Linked DNA regions of Homo sapiens: all the other regions are linked to region 6. Evidence: promoter capture Hi-C in 16 types of primary human blood cells and fetal thymus (Javierre and others, 2016). All regions are on one chromosome and are shown on one strand. The core of a region is centred on a gene start or on the middle of the fragment in contact, and the rest is flanking DNA. Distances in the headings are between cores, read along the strand shown.

The links. The method cuts DNA at HindIII sites, captures the fragments that hold promoters and counts their contacts. A CHiCAGO score of 5 or more calls a contact.
Region 1: a contact is called between a fragment that was not itself captured here and the fragment with the promoter of VCPKMT in region 6, in 1 of 17 cell types (total CD4 T cells). The highest score is 5.0, in total CD4 T cells.
Region 2: a fragment that was not itself captured here is called in contact with the fragment with the promoter of VCPKMT in region 6 in 1 of 17 cell types (M2 macrophages); the score reaches 5.1 in M2 macrophages.
Region 3: a fragment that was not itself captured here is called in contact with the fragment with the promoter of VCPKMT in region 6 in 1 of 17 cell types (naive CD8 T cells); the score reaches 5.0 in naive CD8 T cells.
Region 4: a fragment that was not itself captured here is called in contact with the fragment with the promoter of VCPKMT in region 6 in 13 of 17 cell types (monocytes, naive CD4 T cells, total CD4 T cells and 10 more); the score reaches 12.3 in monocytes.
Region 5: a fragment that was not itself captured here is called in contact with the fragment with the promoter of VCPKMT in region 6 in 14 of 17 cell types (naive CD8 T cells, total CD8 T cells, activated CD4 T cells and 11 more); the score reaches 18.5 in naive CD8 T cells.
Region 7: a fragment that was not itself captured here is called in contact with the fragment with the promoter of VCPKMT in region 6 in 11 of 17 cell types (activated CD4 T cells, total CD8 T cells, naive CD4 T cells and 8 more); the score reaches 10.9 in activated CD4 T cells.

Annotation. Positions count from the first base shown.
Region 1 is chr14:49,791,361-49,794,189 of GRCh38, forward strand. The region is part of intron 26 of NEMF (nuclear export mediator factor); the gene reads right to left. Among named protein-coding and RNA genes, the nearest start is that of KLHDC2, 25 kb to the left of the region's middle. The HindIII fragment of the contact is 8,583 bases long and covers 1-2,829 here.
Region 2 is chr14:50,424,122-50,427,351 of GRCh38, forward strand. MAP4K5 (mitogen-activated protein kinase kinase kinase kinase 5) reads right to left here. Exons shown (of 33, transcript NM_006575.6): 31 at 1,786-1,856. Among named protein-coding and RNA genes, the nearest start is that of CDKL1, 29 kb to the left of the region's middle. The HindIII fragment of the contact is 287 bases long and covers 1,513-1,799 here.
Region 3 is chr14:49,752,581-49,755,675 of GRCh38, forward strand. KLHDC1 (kelch domain containing 1) reads left to right here. Exons shown (of 13, transcript NM_172193.3): 13 at 1-570. Among named protein-coding and RNA genes, the nearest start is that of KLHDC2, 14 kb to the right of the region's middle. The HindIII fragment of the contact is 1,983 bases long and covers 456-2,438 here.
Region 4 is chr14:49,772,800-49,775,588 of GRCh38, forward strand. It overlaps KLHDC2 (kelch domain containing 2), which reads left to right. Exons shown (of 13, transcript NM_014315.3): 3 at 1,762-1,879. Among named protein-coding and RNA genes, the nearest start is that of KLHDC2, 6.0 kb to the left of the region's middle. The HindIII fragment of the contact is 4,163 bases long and covers 1-2,789 here.
Region 5 is chr14:49,826,661-49,829,759 of GRCh38, forward strand. It overlaps NEMF (nuclear export mediator factor), which reads right to left. Exons shown (of 33, transcript NM_004713.6): 12 at 2,689-2,766; 13 at 2,394-2,602; 14 at 1,956-2,147; 15 at 1,631-1,694. Among named protein-coding and RNA genes, the nearest start is that of NEMF, 25 kb to the right of the region's middle. The HindIII fragment of the contact is 5,222 bases long and covers 1-3,099 here.
Region 6 is chr14:50,115,121-50,118,224 of GRCh38, forward strand. It overlaps VCPKMT (valosin containing protein lysine methyltransferase), which reads right to left and starts at 1,452. Exons shown (of 6, transcript NM_024558.3): 1 at 1,167-1,452; 2 at 949-1,059; 3 at 719-791. The coding sequence starts at 1,432. It overlaps SOS2 (SOS Ras/Rho guanine nucleotide exchange factor 2), which reads right to left. Exons shown (of 23, transcript NM_006939.4): 23 at 2,010-3,104. RefSeq lists an enhancer at 1,389-1,448. The HindIII fragment of the contact is 15,614 bases long and covers 1-2,191 here.
Region 7 is chr14:49,809,819-49,812,733 of GRCh38, forward strand. The region is part of intron 18 of NEMF (nuclear export mediator factor); the gene reads right to left. Among named protein-coding and RNA genes, the nearest start is that of NEMF, 42 kb to the right of the region's middle. The HindIII fragment of the contact is 1,203 bases long and covers 744-1,946 here.

The sequences.
Region 1 (2,829 bases), core at 175-2,674, 320 kb before region 6:
AGCATGAGCCTTCTGGGATGCTGGAAACATTCCAAGTAAAGTATCTGTATCTGAGTGGTGGTTTCACAGATGTGTGTGCTTATAAAAATTCACTGAGGCCAGGCATGGTGGCTCACGCCTGTAATCCCAGCACTTTGGGAGGCCGAGGCAGGCGGATCACAAGGTCAAGAGATCGAGACCATCCTGACCAACATGGTGAAACTCTGTCGCTACTAAAAATACAAAAAGTAGCTGGGCATAGTGGTGCACGCCTGTAGTCCCAGCTACTCAGAAGGCTGAGGCAGGAGAATTGCTTGAACCCAGGAGGCGGAGGTTGCAGTGAGCCGAGATCGCGCCACCGCACTCCAGCCTGGGCAACAGAGCGAGACTCCATTTAAAAAAAAAAAAAAAAAAAAAAAATTCACTGAGCCAAAGATTTGTGCATTTTACTACTATGTACACTGTACCTCAAAAAAAAATTGAGAAAGAATATTGTAACCAATAAACAGGACTGAGGAATGGAAAACCTGATGACAACAGAGTTTCTTAGAAAATACAACTTCGGAAAACCAACTTCAAAAAAAATCCCGGAAAACCTGAATAAACCTAAAATCATTAAAGAAATTGAAATTAGTTCTTACAAACCTCCTCAAAATAGCCAGGCATGGTGGCACACACCTGTGGTCTCAGCTACTAGGGAAGCTGAGATGGGAGGATTGCTTGAGCCCAGGAGGTCGAGGCTGCAGTGAGCCAAGATTGCAACACTACATCCCAGCCTGGGCAACAAAGTAAGACCCAGTCTAAAAAAAAAAAAAGTCTCCTCACAAAACCCAAAACATTAGGTCTAGTTTTATAAGCAAATGCTATCCAATTTCAAGGAACAATCTCCGTTTTTTGACAGAGTTCTTGCTCTGTCACCCAGGCTGGAGTGCAGTGCATGACCTTGGCTCATTGCAACCTCTGCCTCCCAGGCTCAAGCAATTATCCTGCCTCAGCCTCCAAGAAGCTGGGACCTACAGGTCCCACCACACCCGGCTAATTTTTGTATTTTTAATACAGATGGGGTTTCACCATGTTAGCCAGGCAGGTCTTGAACTCCTGACCTCAGGTGACCCAACTGCCTCAGCCTCCCAAAGTGCTGGGATTACAGGCATGAGCCACCGTGCCCAGCCACAATCTCCATTTTATACAAAGTTCTAGAGAGCAGAAAAAGAGGGAAAGGTCCTAAACTTATTTTATGAAACTGGTATAATGTAAACACAAAAAACAGGCAGAGACGGTATGAGAAATTAGAAGCCAATTAATATATTTTTCTCAACTAATATACCATACTGACTAACAGATAAAATAATACAATAGTCTGGGCATGGTGGCTTATGCCTGTTAATTTTAGCACTTTTGGATAACAAGCAGGAGGATAACTTGAGCCTAGGAGTTAGACCAGCCTGGGCAAATAGGAAGAGCCTGTCTCTAAAAATAATAAAAATAAAAATTAGCCAGACATGGTGGCACATGCCTGTGATCCCAGCTGTTTGGGAAGCTGAGGTATTAGGATGGTTTGGGCCCAGGAGATCGAGGCTGCAGTGAGCCATAACCACACCACTGCAGTCCAGCCTGGGCAACAGAGTGACACCCTGTCTCAAAAAAACAAACAAAAAGAATGCAATAGACACAGAAAAACCATTCAGTAACATTTAACTCATCGTTATTAAAAATAACTTTCAAAAAGGTGTCCTTCAACAACCCAAAGGAAACATCCCGCAATGATAAAATCTTAGAAACAGTTCCTGTAATGGAATTAACAAAGATATACACGATTACTACTTCTATGAAACATTATATTTTTGCTTTTCAGTCACTGCAAAAAAAAACATGGGGAAAATAAAAAGATATTAAGACTAGAAGAAAAGCCATAATTTGCAGACGATATGACTGCCTACAGATGAAGTATTAAAATTAGTAAGTGCTCTATAAGATTGCCCATTACTTGATCAACATGAAAGTTGTCTTCCCATGTACCAGCAAGTAACAGCTAGGAAATGAAAGTTTCAAAAATAGGTAGGGCGCAGTGGCTCAAGTCTGTAATCCCAACACTTTGGGAGGCTGAGGCGGGCAGATTGCTCAGTTATAGTTTTATAATTGCACAATTATAGTTTTCCACAGGAAGACTCAAAGTGGTAAAAATGACAATTCCCCAGAAAATAATCTAAAAGTTTAATGTATTTTAATAAACATTCTATCAGGATTTGCCTTGAAACTTAACCTATCTGCAGAATATTTCATTGTAAAAATGCATCATTTATTGTTATTTCACATTGTTGTACACTTAAGATTAATTGCAGTATTTTTTTGCTACTACAAATATAAACTTCAACGTCCTCGTTGCGTACCCATAATTTTTTTTAGGATAAATTCCTATAAGAGGAATTGCTGAGTCAAAGGGCAGAAGCACTGTTAAGACTTTTGACTGGAATTCCCATGTTGTACACTCAAACTGACAATGTAGTATCTATTAATTTGATGGGTAAAAAAAATTCCCCAGGTTTACACAGCATTTCTGTCATCACTTTTTTTTTTTTCCAGATTTGTCATTTGTTTTTTAATTTTACTGGTGGTTCTTTACTTTCTCCACCTGCAATTCACTGTGGTACCGTTTTCACATGGTTAGCCATCATTTTGAATATTTCATATCTTCTCAAATGATCTACAATATTATTTTATCACGTACTAAAATGCTAAATATCAGGTAGTGGTCCTCTGTCTAGATTTTATTCTGTCTCATTTTTTTCTGTCTAGCTATTCCTATGTTAATAACATGCTGTTGTAAAAATTCTAGCATTAAATATTTTA
Region 2 (3,230 bases), core at 406-2,905, 310 kb after region 6:
ACTTTTAGAGGAACCCACACTAAGATATTGTAGATATAAAGTAAGTTAAAAAAAAAAAAAAGTCTGGTATCAAGGAGTTTGCAGTCTACCTGGGAAAATAGAATTAATAAGCTTGAATCAGAAAATAAATTAGGTGTTATACTAGTTGGAGCTGATTTTTCAGAGTATTAAGTTCAGAGATGTTCTAATCATTGTGCCTGGAATGACTGAGTATTACTTTATGAAAGAGGTCAAGACTTTAGCTAGGCCCAAGTTGAAGGATGAGAACATAAACTGAAAAAAAGGTAATCAAGACGAATTAAAAATAGGCCGGGTGTGGGGCTCACATCTGTAATCCCGGCACTTTGGGAGGCCAAGGCAGGTGGATCACGTGAGGTCAGAAGTTCGAGACCAGCCTGGCCAACACGGTGAAATCCCATCTCTACTAAAAATACAAAAATTAGCTGGGTGTGTTGGTGCATGCCTGTAATCCCAGCTACTCAGGAGGCCGAGGCAGGAGAATCGCTTGAACCCAGGAGGTGGAGGTTGCAGTGAGCTGAGATTGTGCCGCTGCACTCCAGCCTGGGCGACAGTGTGAGACTCCATCTCAAAAAAAAAAAAAAAAAAAGAGTTAAAAATAGATATTTCGGAAATGGAATCAATATTTGATACAGTAAGAAACAAGGACCTTCTGTAGATTTCTAACCATAGGAGTGACATAATGAAAATAGCATTTAAGAATAATTAACCATATGATAATAAGTAGGACTGTAGGTTTCATCAAGTGCAGGGACTTGGTGACATTTAGTGACACGTATCAGTAACTAGATAAACTTATATATTCAAAGACAGCTGATTTATGTCATTTCCTCCTGGAAGCATTCTAATTCTGCATTCATATAAGAGGTAGGAATATTCATTTATATATAAGTAAGAGTGTGGATAAAACTAAAGGTAAATGCAAACAGAAGAAGTTTTTGAGCTTTAAGTAAGTTCACAAACTTGTTAGGCCATAGTTAGAAGAATCACACAAGTATTCACGTAAATGTGAAATGTCTCTGTTAGTATTATCTTAGCTAGTAGGACTCATTCCTCAAATTGGAGGCCCAAATCCCATCTCCTGCATGAGACGTAATTATCTCAGCTAGAAGTGATTTAAAGAGACCCTTCAAATCCAGACTCTTCCACTTCACTAGTTATGTAACTCTGGGCAAGTTACTTAACCACTCTGTAGCTGTAAAAATGGCAATATGAATAGTATCTACTTCTACTGGATTATTTTGAGCCTGAAATAAGCAAATATTTGTAAAGTGCCTGGAACACAGTAGGTATTATTTAAAGTTTGATATTATTTACAATAATAGTGTCTTGAACATAGTTGGTACTCAATAGTTACTAAATGAGTCAATTTTCTTAGATTCCCTTATTCTTATGCTCCATTATGTATTAATTTAGATTTTAAAATATATTTAAAAAGAAGCCAGATATTTATAGATTATGGAAAACACTTAATAAATTTAGAAAAGTTTTACAAGCTTAGCAACCATATTTACAAATTACAAATTAGATAAATGAAATTGCATGAACTTATATTTTGCAATTCCTGGTGGCCACTGAGAATTTTGAACTATGATACAGAAGTGAACATAGTTGAAGGGAAAATACTGGCTTTTTTGTTCTACCAGTTCATAGTATTAAAAGCACTAAACACAGTAATGTAGGTTCAGAGAGGAAATGCATAAAACGAGTGCTTCGACATTTAAAATTGTTAGTGGGAGTCAGTGGAGGTAATCTGAGAAGGCTTACCTCATCTGACTTGAAGCTTTTACCCTGCATCCCATGTTTCCAGAAAGCCAACACACTGTCTTGAAGGCATACTAAAAATGATAAGGGAGAAGTGAAACTAATATAAAGCACAGAGCATTTCACTATAAATTTTCTCTACTTTTAATAAATAATATAAGCCTATTCAAGTGTCTAGTGCAAAATTCCACTGTCTAGACCACGATTTCTCAACATTTTTGTGGCTAAGACATGCCTAAGTTCAAGTAATTTACTGAGGTAGGGTTATGCAAGTCTTCAAAGATACATATAAAAGCCATTCATTTAAACATGAACTAACTTCTGATAAGGTGGATGTTGGCATATTCATTTCTTTCATACAAAAGATACAGTGTATCTTTTGTCTTAAATGAATAAAATCATAAAAACATATATAACTGGGTTTTTGCATTAAAAGCATTGTTGTTTAAATACTGTTACATATTCAGAAGTAGCTTTAAACAAGCATTTTTTATGTTCATATTTTCCCTGTAACAAAAGAAATTTTAAAAAATAAACCTGGCCGGGCGCAGTGGCTCATCCCTGTAACCTCAGCACTTTGGGAGGCCGAGGTGGGTGGATCACCTGAGGTCAGGAGATGGAGACCAGCCTGACCAGTATGGTGAAACCCTGTCTCTACAAAAATACAAAAATTAGCCAGGTGTGGTGGCCTGTGCCTGTAGCCCCAGCTACTCAGGACGCTGAAACGGGAGAATTGCTTGAACCCCACAGGTGGAGGCTGCAGTGAGCCGAGATCACGTCACTTCACTCCAGCTTGGGCGACAGAGCGAGACTCCGTCTCAAACAAAATAAATAAATAAAAAATAAAATAAAATAAACCTGCCCCACAATCCAACATTTAACCACACATTGAATATTTAGGATCTGTGAGTCAATTCTTACATAAAATTCTTAGTATTTAACCATTACAAGTAAGTATTAGAGTTAGAAAAGCATAATTAAAAGTGATGGAGGAAAGTAACTGAAAATTAACTGTTTTATTAGACTATTAACTTTTTGTAAAAAGTTAATGTAAGAATGTTCTGGGAACATAATTAAGCTCAATAAAAATAAAAGTATTTGACAATGACAAATCACATGTGTTTCACTAACTGTGACAAATAAAAAACCTAGTTACTGATTTTATTTTTAAGAGGTGTTGTAAAGGCATTTTTTTTTCCCCAGGAGGATTCCTGTAATTATTCCAAGGTTTACTGGCAAGAAAAGATGGTAGCCTAGGAGGAACAAACTTTTGTGTAACAATTAAAATTACGAAGATAATTTGGCACATCTGAAAAAGTTGAGGTATCAGTGTGTTTCAATGAAAGTGAAGAGGAATTAAGGATTCCTATGTCAGAATCTCTCTCAAAAATGTTAAATCCAAATTGGCATGTAATATAAGGAGTAAAAGAAGAAACTAGTTTCCAAAA
Region 3 (3,095 bases), core at 197-2,696, 360 kb before region 6:
AATGAGATGGGATGGTAATCTAGTAATTTGACTTTATAGAAATCCCTCAGTTTGGCCCCCACCATTCTACAGAGTTGTACTCAAGACAGATACTGAAAAAATCTAATACCTTCCCTTGTATTTTCAGCATTACCATCTATACAGAAATGGAACACTGTATCTTTATATTCCTAAAAATGGTACTTTTGGCATAATTAAGAAATTTTTCTTCATATTATCACAATCATGCCCTTCCATTGAATTATTAATTACAATTAATTACTAAAAAGCTTGGTATGTAAAATTATTCTCCACAATATTACCATGCAAGTTATCTCTGAAATTTAAAATGTTAAAGAAAAACATTTCTATATTGAAATATATATAATTTATAATGAAAATTATAGTAGTTTGTAGTATTTCATTGAATTTTAGAGAGATATTTCATATATATGTACTGTATTTTGGATGTGTAAAGCTTCTATGTATTGAAATATTTTTTTACGTTTTATTTATTGTACAAAGTGTATATAATTACTGTTTTCTTTTTTGTCAGTGTAAAGCAGTCATTAGAATTGATTATACAAAAAATATTTCATTGTCAGTTTTCATTTTTCTATTTTTAGGCTGAATAACAGATTTAGAAAATGAATCTCACAAATAATTCACATCTTGGAAATAATTACCTTATTATGCTGTGGTGCTGATGAATTTAGCATCAGCCTTTTATATTTAAGGCAAAAATATATCAAAACCTAATTAGACACTGATAGATGACATTGAGCAGAAGGAACACCGTTTTAAAATGGCTTCTGGATTATGTGAATGCCTTGTCCCGCCTCTTAGAAGAGCACCTCTATTTTTAAATGATGTATTTGGAACATTAAAAGTTGGATTAGCCCCCTTAAAATACACACTCTCATGGGCTTTAAGAGAATGAAAATCTGGTCAGGTGCAGTGGCTAACGTCTATAATCCCAGCACTTTGGGAGGCTGAGGCAGGAGGCTTGCTTGAGGCCAGGAATTCAAGACCAGCCTGGGCAACATGAAGAGACCCTATCTGTTAAAAAAAAAAAAATCTCAGAATATTCTTACCATTGCCAGAAAGGATTCTTTTAAGGTTATTGTTATTTTTAATGTGATAAATAACACATCAAAATTAGTGTACCTTTTTTCCAAATAGTATTTTTGCAAAAGCACCTGTAAAAATACTTTTTAGAGGCCAGGCATGGTGGCTCATGTCTGTAATTCCAGCACTTTGGGGGGCTGTGGTGGACAGATCACTTGAGGCCAGGAGTTCGAGACCAGCCTGGCCAACATGGTGAAACCCTTTCTCTACCAAAAATTAAAAAATTAGCTGGGTGTGGTGGCATGCACCTATAGTCCCAGCTACTCGGGAGGCTGAGGCAGGAGAATCACTTGAATGTGGGAGGCAGAGGTTGCAGTGAGCCAAGATTGAACCACTGCATTCCAGCCTGGGCAACAGAGTGAGACTCCGTCCAAAAAAAAAAATATATATATATATATATATACACACACATACTTTGGAACTTTGTACTGTCAGCTGACACAGTGATGTTTTCACCAATGTGGGTTTTTTTTGTTTTTTTGGGTTTTTTATTTTGAGACAGAGTCTCTGTCGCCCAGGCTGGAATGCAGTGGTGCGATCTCAGCTCACTGCAACCTCTGCGTCCCAGGTTCACGTAATTCCTGTGCCTCACCCACCTGAGTAGCTGGGATTACAGGTGCATGCCACCACGCCCAGCATTAATTTTTGTATTTTTAGTAGAGACGGGGTTTTGTCATGTTGGCCAGGCTGGTCTCGAACTCCTAACCTGAAGTGATCCGCCCACCTTGGCCTTCCAAAGTGCTAGGATTACAGGTGTGAGCCACCACGCCCGGCCACCAGTGTGTTATTTGTACATGTATTTGAGAGAAATAAAGTCACCATGATAGAATAATTGTCAGGGTAGTGCATACTATTGATGAATTAAAATTTAGATTTCAGAATTTCTGGGAGGAAAAGAAGCAATTTTAAGGAGCAGATGATCCCCCTACTCACGTTTTTTTGCCTCTCTTTCCATTGTATTAATTTAATTCTTTTGGAATTTCCAGTTTGATGAAGTTGCCATACAGTCCAGCATGTGGGCACAGCATGATTTTTTCAAATGATTCAATGTCTGTTGTTTACATTATGGCTCATTCTTGGTGTTGTATATTCTATGGGTTTTGACATGTATATAAGGACATGTATTCACCAGTGTAGTATCATACAAAATAGTTTCACTGCCCTAAAAAATCCTCTGTGCTCTGCCTGTTCATTCCTCCCTCTTCTCTAACCCCTGGAAACCACTGACATTTTTACTGTTTACATAGTTCTGTCTTTTCCAGAATGTCGTATAGTCATACTGGCTTCTTCACTTAGCAGTATGTATTTACGTTTCTTCCATTTCTCTTCGAAGCTTGATAGCTCATTTCTTTTTAGCGTTGAATAATATTCCATTGTCTGACATACCACAGTTTATCCATTCATCTACTGAAAAACATCTTGGTTGCTTCCAAGTTTTGGCAATTATGAATAAAGCTGCTATAAACATCTGTGTGCAAGGTTTTGTATAGACATAAGTTTTCAGTTCATTTGGATCAATACCAAGGATCAAGATTGTTGGATCATATGGTAAGAATATATTTAGTTTATTAAGAAACCACCAGACTACCTTCCAAAGTGGCTATACTCAATGAATGAGAGTTCCTGTTGCTTCACATCCTTGCCAGCATTTGGTGGTGTCAGTGTTTTGGGTTTCTTTGTTCTGCTAGATATGTAGTGGTTCATATTGTTTTAATTTGCAATTTCCTAATGACATATGATGTTGACATTTTTCATATGCTGACTTGCCGTCTATATACTTTGGCGAGGTGTCCAGGTCTTTTGCCCATTTTTTTCAATCAGGTTATTCATTTTCTTATTGTTGAGTTTTAGGAATTCTTTGTAATTTGTAGATAACAGCCGTTTATCAGCAGTGACTTGCAAAATTTTCTCCCAGTCTGTGGCTTCACTTAACATTGTCTTTGACAGAGCAAGTCCATCTCATCAGTTCTTTATTTCATGGACTGTGC
Region 4 (2,789 bases), core at 128-2,627, 340 kb before region 6:
ACAAAAATTAGCCAGGCATGATGGCAGGTGCCTATAATCCCAGCTACTAGGGAGGCTGAGGCAGGAGAATCACCTGAACCCGGGAGGCAGAGGTTGCAGTGAACTGAGATCATGCCATTGCACTCCAGCCTGGGTAATACAGTGAGACTCCCTCTCAAAAAACAAAAACATTTAACAGTTACAAACTAAAAATAAGTCATGATTATTTCTGTATATAACAAATTGGTGTTAATATGAAGCTGTTTCTTAATCTTTTTCTAGAGAATTGGAAATTTATAATTGTATTCTCTTAAAAGCAGAATGCTACATATTTTTAAAGATAATTTTTAAGGGGCCGGGCACGGTGGCTCACACCTGTAATCCCAGCACTTTGGGAAGCCGAGGCAGGTGGATCATGAGGTCAGGAGATCCAGACCATCCTGGCTAACATGGTGAAACCCTGTCTCTACTAAAAAATACAAAAAATTAGCCGGGCGTGGAGGCACGCGCCTGTAGTCCCAGCTACTCGGGAGGCTGAGGCAGAAGAATGGCGTGAACCCGGAAGGCAGAGCTTGCAGTGAGCAGAGATCGCGCCACTGCACTCCAGCCTGGGCGAAAGAGTCAGACTCCATCTCAAAAAAAAAAAAAAAAAAATTTAAGGCCAGGTATGGTGGCTCACACCTGTAATCCTAGCACTTTGGGAGGCCGAGGTGGGAGGATCACTTGAGCCCAGGAGTTCAAGACCAGCCTGAGCAATACAGTGAGACCCTGTTTCTATTTAAAAATAATAACTTTTTTTTTTTTTTTTTTTTTAATGAGAGGGAGTCTCACTCTGTCGCCCAGGCTGGAGTGCAGTGGCGCAATCTCGACTCGCTGCAAGCTCCGCCTCCTGGCTTCACACCATTCTGTTGCCTCAGCCCCCTGAGTAGCTGGGACTACAGGCGCCCGCCACCACGCCTGGCTAATTTTTTGTATTTTTAGTAGAGATAGGGTTTCACCATGTTAAACAGTATGGTCTCGATTTCTTGACCTTGTGATCCACCTGCCTCAGCCTCCCAAAGTGCTGGGATTACAGGCATGAGCCACCGCGCCCAGCCAAAAATAGTAACTTTTAAAAAAATGAGCCTTCTAAAACTTTTAAGTTTAGCAAAGATAAATATTATTATATCTGACAGTTTTAGCAGAAGACCTTGAGTATACTATTAGAATTTTAAATCTTAGATTCCTTAGGTTGATTCAGATCAATTTTTAGATTCAGAATGAGTTAATACATACAAAGCACTCAGGAATGCCTGGCACATGGCACTACCTGTTTGTAGTGTTACATAAAGGACTGAATCTGATGCATATGAACAGCTAAAAGGGGACTGAAGAAAAAACACTGAATTAATCTATCAGCACTGGGAATGTTGAGGTTTTCCTTCTGGGCTCCTGGCCCACTCAAAAGCAAAACAACTTATGGCCATGTAAATAAATAGCAAACAATTTAGTCTGAGAAACATAAAATGGTATGCTCCTAGAATAATAAAATATGACTTAGGCTTTCAGAATCTCTCATGCCTGTACACATGGGGCCAGCTGGCACTGTTTGTGGAATGGGTAAAGAGGGAAAAGCACATTCCTTGAATTAAGGTTAGACCTAGGAGAGATCCTAGCGGCACTGTCTACTCTGCCTTCTCATTTTATTCCTTTATTGTGAGGATATAAGTAGAAGAAGAAAAATTAATAGACTTTTGCATTTCTTCCCTTTAACTTACATACATTTAATTTATTCCCCCTCAGGAAAAAAATCAACACTGAAGGTGATGTTCCTCCTTCTATGTCAGGAAGCTGTGCTGTGTGTGTAGACAGGGTGCTGTACTTGTTTGGAGGACACCATTCAAGAGGCAATACCAATAAGGTTAGTGTTTCTAAGGATTATGGCTTGAGGCATTTTTATTCTTATTATCTTTCAAACAACTGCAAATTTCTAAGGTTAGCCCCAGACTTATTTGTGTCACAGTTAAAAATGATGTGTACTTGATTATGATATGAATGTGCATTTTAGTATTTTGTGTGCCAATCTGTATTTACCTAGGCATTATGTAAAATCAACTTTTGTTGGTAACCTGTGTGCAGTAACTTCCTGGGTGGTTTTTCTTTGTGCTTTTTGCAGCTACTTGTTCTCTTAGAACCTTAAATGTTAGATGAACATTAGTAATAAAATTGCAGACAAAATGAAGACAAGATGTAATGGAGGGAAGGGTAAAAATGAGCAGGCAACCAGTCAGAAAGCTGTAAGGATAAATTAAAACTGACAAAACTTTACATGTTAACATTCCTATAAAGTGGTGCCCAAAGACAATGCTGTTCAGACTTTGCCGTATTTTGTTCCAAGTAGGAAAAAATATATCACTTCTTCTCTTTCAGACCAATAAGAGACAGATTAAGTCAATCAGAAATGATACATATGACATATATTAGCGCTTACTGAGTTGCCAAATAAATGAATCCATAGGAGTCTATTAAGTTGGCAACTTAGTAAGCACTTTATGTGCTGAGCACTTGGCTGGACACTGGAGACAGAAAGAATGATATAGTTCTCACCTCCTGGAACTCACATTCTAGAAGGGACACATATAGTAAGTAAACCACTGCAGTAGCACCTGCTAGAGAGATACACAGCACCTGGCATATAGAAAATAACTCAGTAAGTATTGTTGAAACTGAAAACTTTGACATTGTATTTGGTGGGATGAGGGAACAGAACAAGGAAAATCTTGACCGAAGAGGTGATGCTTGAACTGAATAATAAAATTGGAAGGAGTAGC
Region 5 (3,099 bases), core at 476-2,975, 290 kb before region 6:
GCTATTAAAGTGCCTACTCTGTGCCAGGCAATATTCCAGGGATTGGGATGCAGCAATGAACAACACAAAGATTCTACTTTCATGCAATCTATATTCTAGAGGGAATCCAGAAAAAATATTCAAATAAACATATGTTGGGCTGGGGGGAGTGTTTTTCAAGAAGAAAATAAGGCAAAATAAAGAGAGATTCAGGGTGGTACTATCGTTAGTAATGAGCGGTCAAGGAAGGATTCTCTGATTAAATCTCATTTAAGTGGATATGTAAATGAAGAGAGGGGTCAAACTGAAAATTCCAGGTAGAGAGAACAGCAAGGGCAAAGACCCTGAGAGGGGAGCACGTGTCATTATTTTATGAACAGCTAAGATCCCAGTGTAGCCAGAAAGAGTGTATGAGAGGAGGAATGCAGGTGTTGAGGTCAGAGGGGAGGAGATCTCCCGTCCTTCTTGCAGGATAGGAGAAGGGCTCTGAATTGTATTAAGATGGGAAGCAACTGGAAGAGAAAAAGGACTTCACTTTTGATTTATTTATTTTAATATATTTTTTGAGACGGAGTCTCGCTCTGTCTCCCAGGCTAGAGTGCAATGGCATGATCTCAGCTCACTGCAACCTCCACCTCCCGGGTTCATTAGATTCTCCCACCTCAGCCGCCCAAGTAGCTGGGATTACAGGTACCCGCCATCACCTCAGGCTAATTTTTGTATTTTCAGTAGATATGGGGTTTCACCATGTTGGCCAGGCTGGTCTCAAACTCCTGGCTTCAAGCGATCCACCGGCCTCGGCCTTCCAAAGTGCTGGAATTACAGGCGTCAACCACCACACCCAGTCTTCACTTTTGATTCAAAAGGATCACAACGGGGCTAGGCATGGTGGCTCACACCTGTAATCCCAGCACTTTGGGAGGCCGAAGGTCAAGGCCTGAAGCGGGCGGATCACCTGAGGTCAGCAGTTTGAGACCAAGCTGACCAACATGGTGAAACCCTGTCTCTACTAAAACTACAAAAATTAGCTGGGTGTGGTGGCGGGCGCCTGTAATCCCAGCTACTTAGGAGGCTGAGGTGGGAGAATCGCTTGAACCTGGGAGGCAGAAGTTGCAGTGAGCTGAGATCAAGCCATTGCACTCCAGCCTGAGCAATAAGAGTGAAACTCCATCGCAAAAAAAAAAAAGGGTCACAATGGCTGCTATGTGGAGAACAGACTGTAGTGGGAAAAGAGGAGGAGGAGAGAGATCCAATAAGAGGCTACTTGTCATAGTCCATGTGAACACAGAGGTGATAGGGGACTGATCAGTGGAAATAATGAGTAGTAGCCAGATTCTGGCTGTACTTTAAAGAAAGAACCAAAGGATTTACTGATGGATTGCATGATTTATGGGAAAAGAGTCCAGGATATCACAAACATTTTTAACCTGAGTGAACAGAAAAATGAAGGTGTTATTTACTGAGATGAGGAAGAATAGGGGAGGAGCAGTCCTGGGGGGAAAAAATACTGGAAATACATATATTTAAAGCAAAGTTAAGTTTGAAAGATACTTCTGAATTAGAAAACCTCATTTAAACAGAAGAAATAATTATGTCCATTAAATTACGCAGGCACAAACAACTAACATTCACTCTAAGAAATACTCAGTACCTTCTCAGCAGCTTCAACAGTCTTTTGTGTTTTCTTAGCAGCATATCTCTTGTGATCATAATACCTAGAAAAACATATTTCTCTTAAATTTTAAGTATAATATTTATTCTTCAGTTTTCTACTTAGTTCTAACTTGACAAATTCTCAAATTATACAGAACAAATCAGAACAAACTGTATAATTAACAAAACTAAATTTAAAAAAGTATTTTCACCCAAAAAAAGTATGCATGTACAAGTGAAATTTAAAATTTTTTAAAATGTCCTTAATTCCTTAATTTATTGCAGATAACACTTGGCCTAAAATGTAAAGTTAAATGACTTACTTTTTGGCATTGGCATATGCTGACAAGCTGAGATCAACATCTACAAGTAAGGGCTTATTTTTCTGAGGCTTCTGCAGCTGTTTATTCTTTTGTTTTTTCTTTTTTCCTTTTGGTGGTTCAGTTTCATTTTTCTCAACATTGACGTCACCATCAACATCATCATCTTCCTCCTCTGATAACAAGTATGGATTTCTATTAAAAATATTCAATAGCATTTCACTAACGTCAATGACATCACTTTTATTTTCAATTTTCTTCTTCAATAAAATTATAAATGGTTTACAGTACTGGAAGTTTCATTATTTATTTTAATCTAAATTAGTTTTTTCCCTTTCTTTGAGAATTTCAAAATATGAAGAAAAAATGTTTAATACAGTGAACAATTAAAATAACAAAATAAAGACAAGCATTAACTGCTTGACTAAGAGTCAAACTTACCTTAGCAGCATTGTAACATGGTTTGTTTGTAGTTTTAATTCTTTGATTGCACTTGCAACAGGGTCTCCTTGAGCCTGGGCTTCTTTCACAATTAACCCAATTTCTGTCCAATCTATCTGGTTAGCTAAAGCACTTCGAACTACCTGAATGGCTCTGTCAACTATTTGTAGGTTCATTTCTATGAGCTCTCCTTTCAGTTTGTCTATTTCCTTAAAAAACAAACCACACACATTTACTACATTGCCAGTTAAAGTTAACATTTTTGAAAAAGCACTGAGAAAGCCAAACATAATACCTGAGCCTGCTGAAGAGCTTCCAATCTGTTTTCGTGATCCTTTCGAACATTATCTAATTTCTTCAATGCTTGCTTTTCCTTTTATTGGCAAAACAGATTTTTTAAAAATTAGATTTCTCCTACCTCATGACATCCCTCTCTTACTTCCCAACACTCACTATCCTGACCCCATCTATGCTGTTATCTAGCTAGCTGAAGTTCCCATAGTCTACCACCCTAGGCCTATCCCACTACAATGCGTTCCATGCCCCAAAATTACTTCTCCTGTCTTCCTAACTCCCACTCCTTATATAGAAAGGTATTTTGATTACAGGTTACTGTGTATATAAGATATACCCCTAATACCCTTGGCATTATTCAAACAGGCAGAAATCAAGACATTTTTTCCTATGGCACAAAAGTAAAGTTTGG
Region 6 (3,104 bases), core at 202-2,701:
GCCCACAACACTATACAAACTGATGTTTTTTTTTTTTTTTTTTTTTTTTGAGACAGAGTTTTGCTCTTGTTGCCCAGGCTGGAATGCAATGGCATGATTTCGGCTCACTGCAACCTCCGCCTCCCAGGTTCAAGCGATTCTCCTGCCTCAGACTCCCAAATAGCTAGGATTACAGACATGCACCACCACGCCTGGCTAATTTTGTATTTTTAGTAGAGACAGGGTTTTGCCATGTAGGTCAGGCTGGTCTCGAACTCCCGACCTCAGGTGAGCCACCTGCCTTGACCTCCCAAGTGTTGGGATTACAGGCGTGAGCCACCGCGCCCGGCCCAAACTGGTATTTAAAGAAAAGAACAATGAATTATTTATAACTTAATTCTCAATGTCATGGTTAACATGTTCCGTGGGAACAACCAAGGGAAAAAGAGAGGATTTTGGCTTTTCATAACATCCAATTGGCAAAATCCTTTAAAATTTTTACAGAAGCCTCTAGTAAAATGCATATAACACTTTTCTCAACATGCTTCACCAGGTCGGTATGATAATGATGAGCGTATATACATATGGTCCCTGGTGACTTTTATCTTCTCTTTACTGCATCAACTATAAGGCAAATCCCGGATTCAAAGATGTTAAAATGTGAAGAAACGTGTGCTTTAGAATTCATGGAATAAGGTTCATCTTCTAAGTGAAGAGACTTCGCTCACTGGATACTTACCTCTTCATAGTATATGCAGTCGGCCATCAGTATGAAGTCGGGTGGAGAAGGAAAGCCTTCTATTTCTTCCCCCCTTAAAAATGCCAAACAAATATTTCAATTGTTTTAATAATTCAAAATACTCTTGTTTTATAAAGAACCGGAAAGTCCCCTTCCATCCTTTTAATGAAACGCAATTCAAAACAAACTACAAATCAATATCTTAAAACAAGCTGAAAGGCCATACAAACCATTTCAGTACCTTGGCTTGAACAGAACCAGTGACAAGATGCTTGTTCATATTAATATTCATCTTCAGCAAGTCTTGCAATTCCTCAAGATCGGTGACTACAACATCAGCCCTATAAAATAACGTCGACTGAGGTGTAGGCACAGGGGGGAAAGCCTGTAATCCGGATTTCCCCAGCAAGAAGGCGCCCCCACATCCCGCCCGCCCGCCAGCTCTTACCCGAGGGTAGCAGCCATGAGCCCCACGGCCCCGGTGCCCGAACCCAGCTCCAGCACCGACCGCCGGCTCAGCGCGTGGGCCCCGTCGCCAGAAAACTCGGGCGTTTCCAGGTATTTAGAAAGGACAATGGCAGCGTCCCACACAACGCAACCCACGCCACCGGAGCTATACTGCTGTAGTCGTAGCACTGTACCATCCCGCTTCTCCAAAACTCGCACAAAGCTCCGCAGTGGGTCCTCCAGCGAGGACTCCAGCGTATCCGCCATTGCGCCCGGCAACAGAAAGCGGCGCGCGCAGGGACGTCACATCAACGCGCACCGCCCCGCCCTGCGGCTCCGCCCCCTGCCCGCCGCTGAGTTGGCGACGCAGCGCGCGCGAGTTAACAAAGCCCGGAAGGCAGCGTTACCTGGGCGGGGCCGAGCGTGGGGCCCCTGCTTACCCGACGCGCTTGGCAGCCTCCCTCTACCCTAAATCACACGTTTGGCTTAACGAAGAGGCCGTTTAAATCACTTTCCCAGACAAAACTATTATAATCTGCTCTTTAAAAAACAAAGCCAACCTCAGAGTTTACCAAGTTGGACACTTGATTTACATAGTAGTTACAAGGCTTAAATGCAATCAGCTTCCAAGATCCTACCAAAGATGGCTATAATCTTACAATCTTCCTTTTCAAGTTCCTAGTATGCTCCTAGTTTTTTGTATGAATTCATAAAAGTGGTTGCTAGAAGCCTGCAGCTCACATTTAACAGTGAAGAAAAAATTGTGTGTGTGTGTGTGTGTGTCTATAGGACTCAACAATCTCCCCCTTTGTTCCTTATAATGAAAACACATATTTTAAAAGTCTTTTAAAAATTAAGACTGGGGTGATTTATTAATCTTGTTAAGAACTCTGATACAAAGCACAGTAAAAGGCCACAAACCAGTAAATAAACAACGTGGCTTTTGGCTACTTTACAACTGCTGCTACAGCACTATCAGCAAAACACTCTATCACTTTGAACGAAGGCATCCAAATGGCAAATAAAAGCTTTACTCACTTATCTGATTAAAATGTTTAATAAAGCTTTAAGTATTTGCTGGTTTAAATATTACCAATCTAAAAAATATATTTAAAAAAAATTTCAGTTAACACGAGATTTATAGAGAAAGTTACTAGGTCTTGAAGGCAAGGCAGTTGGTTCCTATGCCATAGAATTTTTTTTGAATTTATGAATTAGTAAAGTAGCAGATTGTATTATAGGCCTCAAGTCACTTAAATTTATATAGGTTATTAGCAGTATCTTTAAATATACAATATAAACAAAACTGTACATACATGGCATATTAACTGTTTTCCATAACAATAGGCAATTCATTAGCTAAAGACGTCATAGTCTGCAAAAACAAAAGGCACATCTGAATGAGATACATGCCCTTTTTCCCTCCATCATTGGGTTATGTAGTCTTTGTTTACATTTTGACAAAATAATAAACACTTACAGTGCCATTCTATTATTTTCATCCTACTTTTCATTTTTGTCTTCAGCAGCAAATACCGGCATTTAAGACATGGCATTAAAGAGTTTAAGAACAGTTGGTGTTATTCACAATTCTCCTAGATGTAAAAACTAGAAGTAAAAACTAGAAGATGGTCAAAGAGGTTTAAAAATCAGTAACACCATATACCCCTCCCATATTTGTGTAAATTCACTGCCTTAAAAAGGCATCTATTACTCAAATTTGAAAAATTTCACAAAAGCACTATCCCTTTTCAGTGCAATCATGTCACTTTAAACCATATTTTTGCAGAGTTTACAGTGCAAATATAAATTCTTTATACTGGCCTTTTGGCAGCACTGAGGATCCAAGACAAGGCAATGCTACTGATCACCTGAGGATAATGGTGAAGGACTTTTGTATTTTTATTTTTCCAATTCTTAAAAGCTTATTTGATCAGTA
Region 7 (2,915 bases), core at 95-2,594, 310 kb before region 6:
CAACTGCACTCCAGGCTGGGCAACAGAGCGAGACTCTGTCTCAAAAAAAGAGAGTGAACTCTAATGCAAACTATGGACTCTGGGCCATAATGATGTGTCAATGTAGGTTCATTAGTTGTAACAAATGTACCGTTCTGGTGGGGGATATCGATAATAGGGGAGGCTACGCATGCATGCAGCAGGGGGTATGAGGGAAATCACTATACATTCTGCTCAATTTTGTTGTGAACCTAAAACTGGTCGAAAAAAATGTCTATTTAAAAAAAGAGGCCGGGTGCGGTGGCTCGTGCCTGTAATCCCAGCACTTTGGGAGGCTGAGGCGGGCGGATCACAAGGTCAAGAGATCAAGACCATCCTGGCTAACACGGTGAAAACTCGTCTCTACTAAAAATACAAAAAATTAGCCGGGCGTGGTGGAGGGCGCCTGTAGTCCCAGCTACTCGGGAGGCTGAGGCAGGAGAATGGTGTGAACCCAGGAGGCAGAGCTTGCATGAGCCGAGATCACACCACTGCACTCCAGCCTGGGTGACAGTGCAAGACTCCATCTCAAAAAACCAAAAACAAAAAATTAAAAAAAGAAAAAAAGAAAGAGGAAATTCTATCCCCATTGGTCTTGGCACCCCTGCTGAAAATTAACTGACCATAAACTACAGGTTTATTTCTGGAATCTCGATTCTATCCCTTGATCTATTTGTCCATCCTCATGCCAGTACCAGTGTCCTGATTACTGTTACTCTGTAGAAAGCTTTAAAATCAGGAAACATGAGTCCTTCAAAATTTGCTCTTCATTTTCAATACTGCTTTCGCTAATCTGAGTCTCCTTGCATTACCACATGAATTTTAGAATCAGCTTCTCCATCTCTGAAAAAATAAAATAAAATAAAATGCAGGGCCAGGGGCAGTGGCTCATGCCTGTAATCCCAGTACTTTAGGAGGTCAAAGTGGATGGACTGCTCGAGCTCAGGAGCTCGACACTAGTCTGGACAACATGGCAAAACCTCATCTCTACAAAAAACACAAAAATAAGTTGGGCACAGTGGCAAATGTCTATGGTCCCAACTACTCAGGAGGTTGAGATGGGAGGATCGCTTCAGCCTGAAAGTTCAAGGCTGCAGTGAGCCAATCGCACCACTTTATTACAGCCTGGGTGACAGGAGACCCTGTTTCAAAACAAAACAAAAAAAGCAGCTGCAATTTTGAGAGGGATTACAGTGAATTCCTAGATTACTGGGGAGTACTGCTATCAGAACAATATTAAGACTTCCAATACATATACATGGGATGTCCAATTTAGGTCTTTAATTCCTTAAAATAATTTTATAGTTTGTTATCTATAAGCGTTGTAAGTCTTTTGGTAAATTGATTCCTAAGTATTTTATTCTTTTTAATGCTAATTATAAATTGAATTGTTTTATTAATTTCCTTTTCAGATTGTTCACTGGTAGTGTACAGAAATACAACTGATTTTTGTTTACTGATCTCATATCCTGGACATTGCTGAACTTGTTTATTAGCTCTGATAATTACTGGTAGATTCTTTAGGTTTTTTAAATGTGTGTGACCATATCAACTGTAAACATAGGTAGCTTTACTTTTGCCTAATTTGGATTTTTTTTTCTTTTTATTGCCTAATGACCTATATAGAACCACCAGTATAATGTTAAATAGAAATGGCAAGAACAGACATATTTGTCTTATTACTGATGGGAGGAGGAAGGTACCCAATCTTTCAGCATTAAGTATGATTGTTAGCTGTCGGTTTTTCATAAATGCTTGTTTACCAAGTTGAGGAATATCCCTTCTATTCCTAGTTTGCTGAGTGTTTTTATCACAAACAAATGTTGAATTTTGTCAAATGGTTTTTCTTCATAAGTTGAGATAATCCATGTGTGTTTTTTGTCCTTTATTAGTAGATTATATTACATTAATTTCCATATACTGAACCAAGCTTTCATTCCTGAGATAAATTACGCTTTGTCATCGTATATAGTCATTTTAATATGCTGCTAGATTCAGTTTGCTAATATTTTGTCAAAGATTTTTGTCTATATTTATAACCGGTATTGGTCTGTAGTTTTCTTGTGTTATCTTTGGTTTTGTAATACTGGCCTTGTAGAATGGGTTAGGAAGTGTTCCCACTGATCCTATTTTTTGGAAGAGTTTGTGAAGAACTGGCATTCAACCTTCTTTATAATTCACCAGTGAAGCCATCTGGCCTAGGGTTTTCTTTGATGAGTATTTTTTTAATGTTTTTCTTTATTATTAATCCAATCTCTGTACTTACAGGTTTATTTCAATTCTCTATTTCTTCTTGAGTCAGTTTTAGTATTTATATCTTTCTAGGAATTTGTCCATTTCATCTAGGTTACATAATCTGTTGGTATATAATTGTTCATGGTATTCCCTTATAATCCTTTCAATATCTGTAAAGTCGGAAGTAATGTTCCCTATTTCATTCCTGATTTTAGGGATTTGAGTCCTCTATTTTCTTGGTCAGTCTAGCCAAGGGTTTATCAATTTTGTTTATCTTTTCAAAGAACCAACTTGGGTTTTGTTCATTTTCTCTATTTTTTTCCTATTCTCTGTTTTGTTCATTTCTACTCTAATATTTACTATTTTCTTCCTTCTCCTTGCTTTGGGTTGTTTTTCTAGTTCTTAAGGTGCAAAGTTAGGTTACTGATTTGAGATCTTTCTTCTTTTTAAATATAGGCATTTATAGCTATAAATTACCCCCTAAGGGCTGCTCTTCTTGCATCTCATAAGTTTTGACACACTGTATTTTCATTTCGTTCATCTCAAAGTGTTTTGTGGCATCTTTTGTGATTTCCTCTTTGTTCCATTGCTTATTTATAACTGTGGTATTTAATTTCCACATACTTACGAATTTAAAACATTTTCTCTACTCCTGGTTTCTA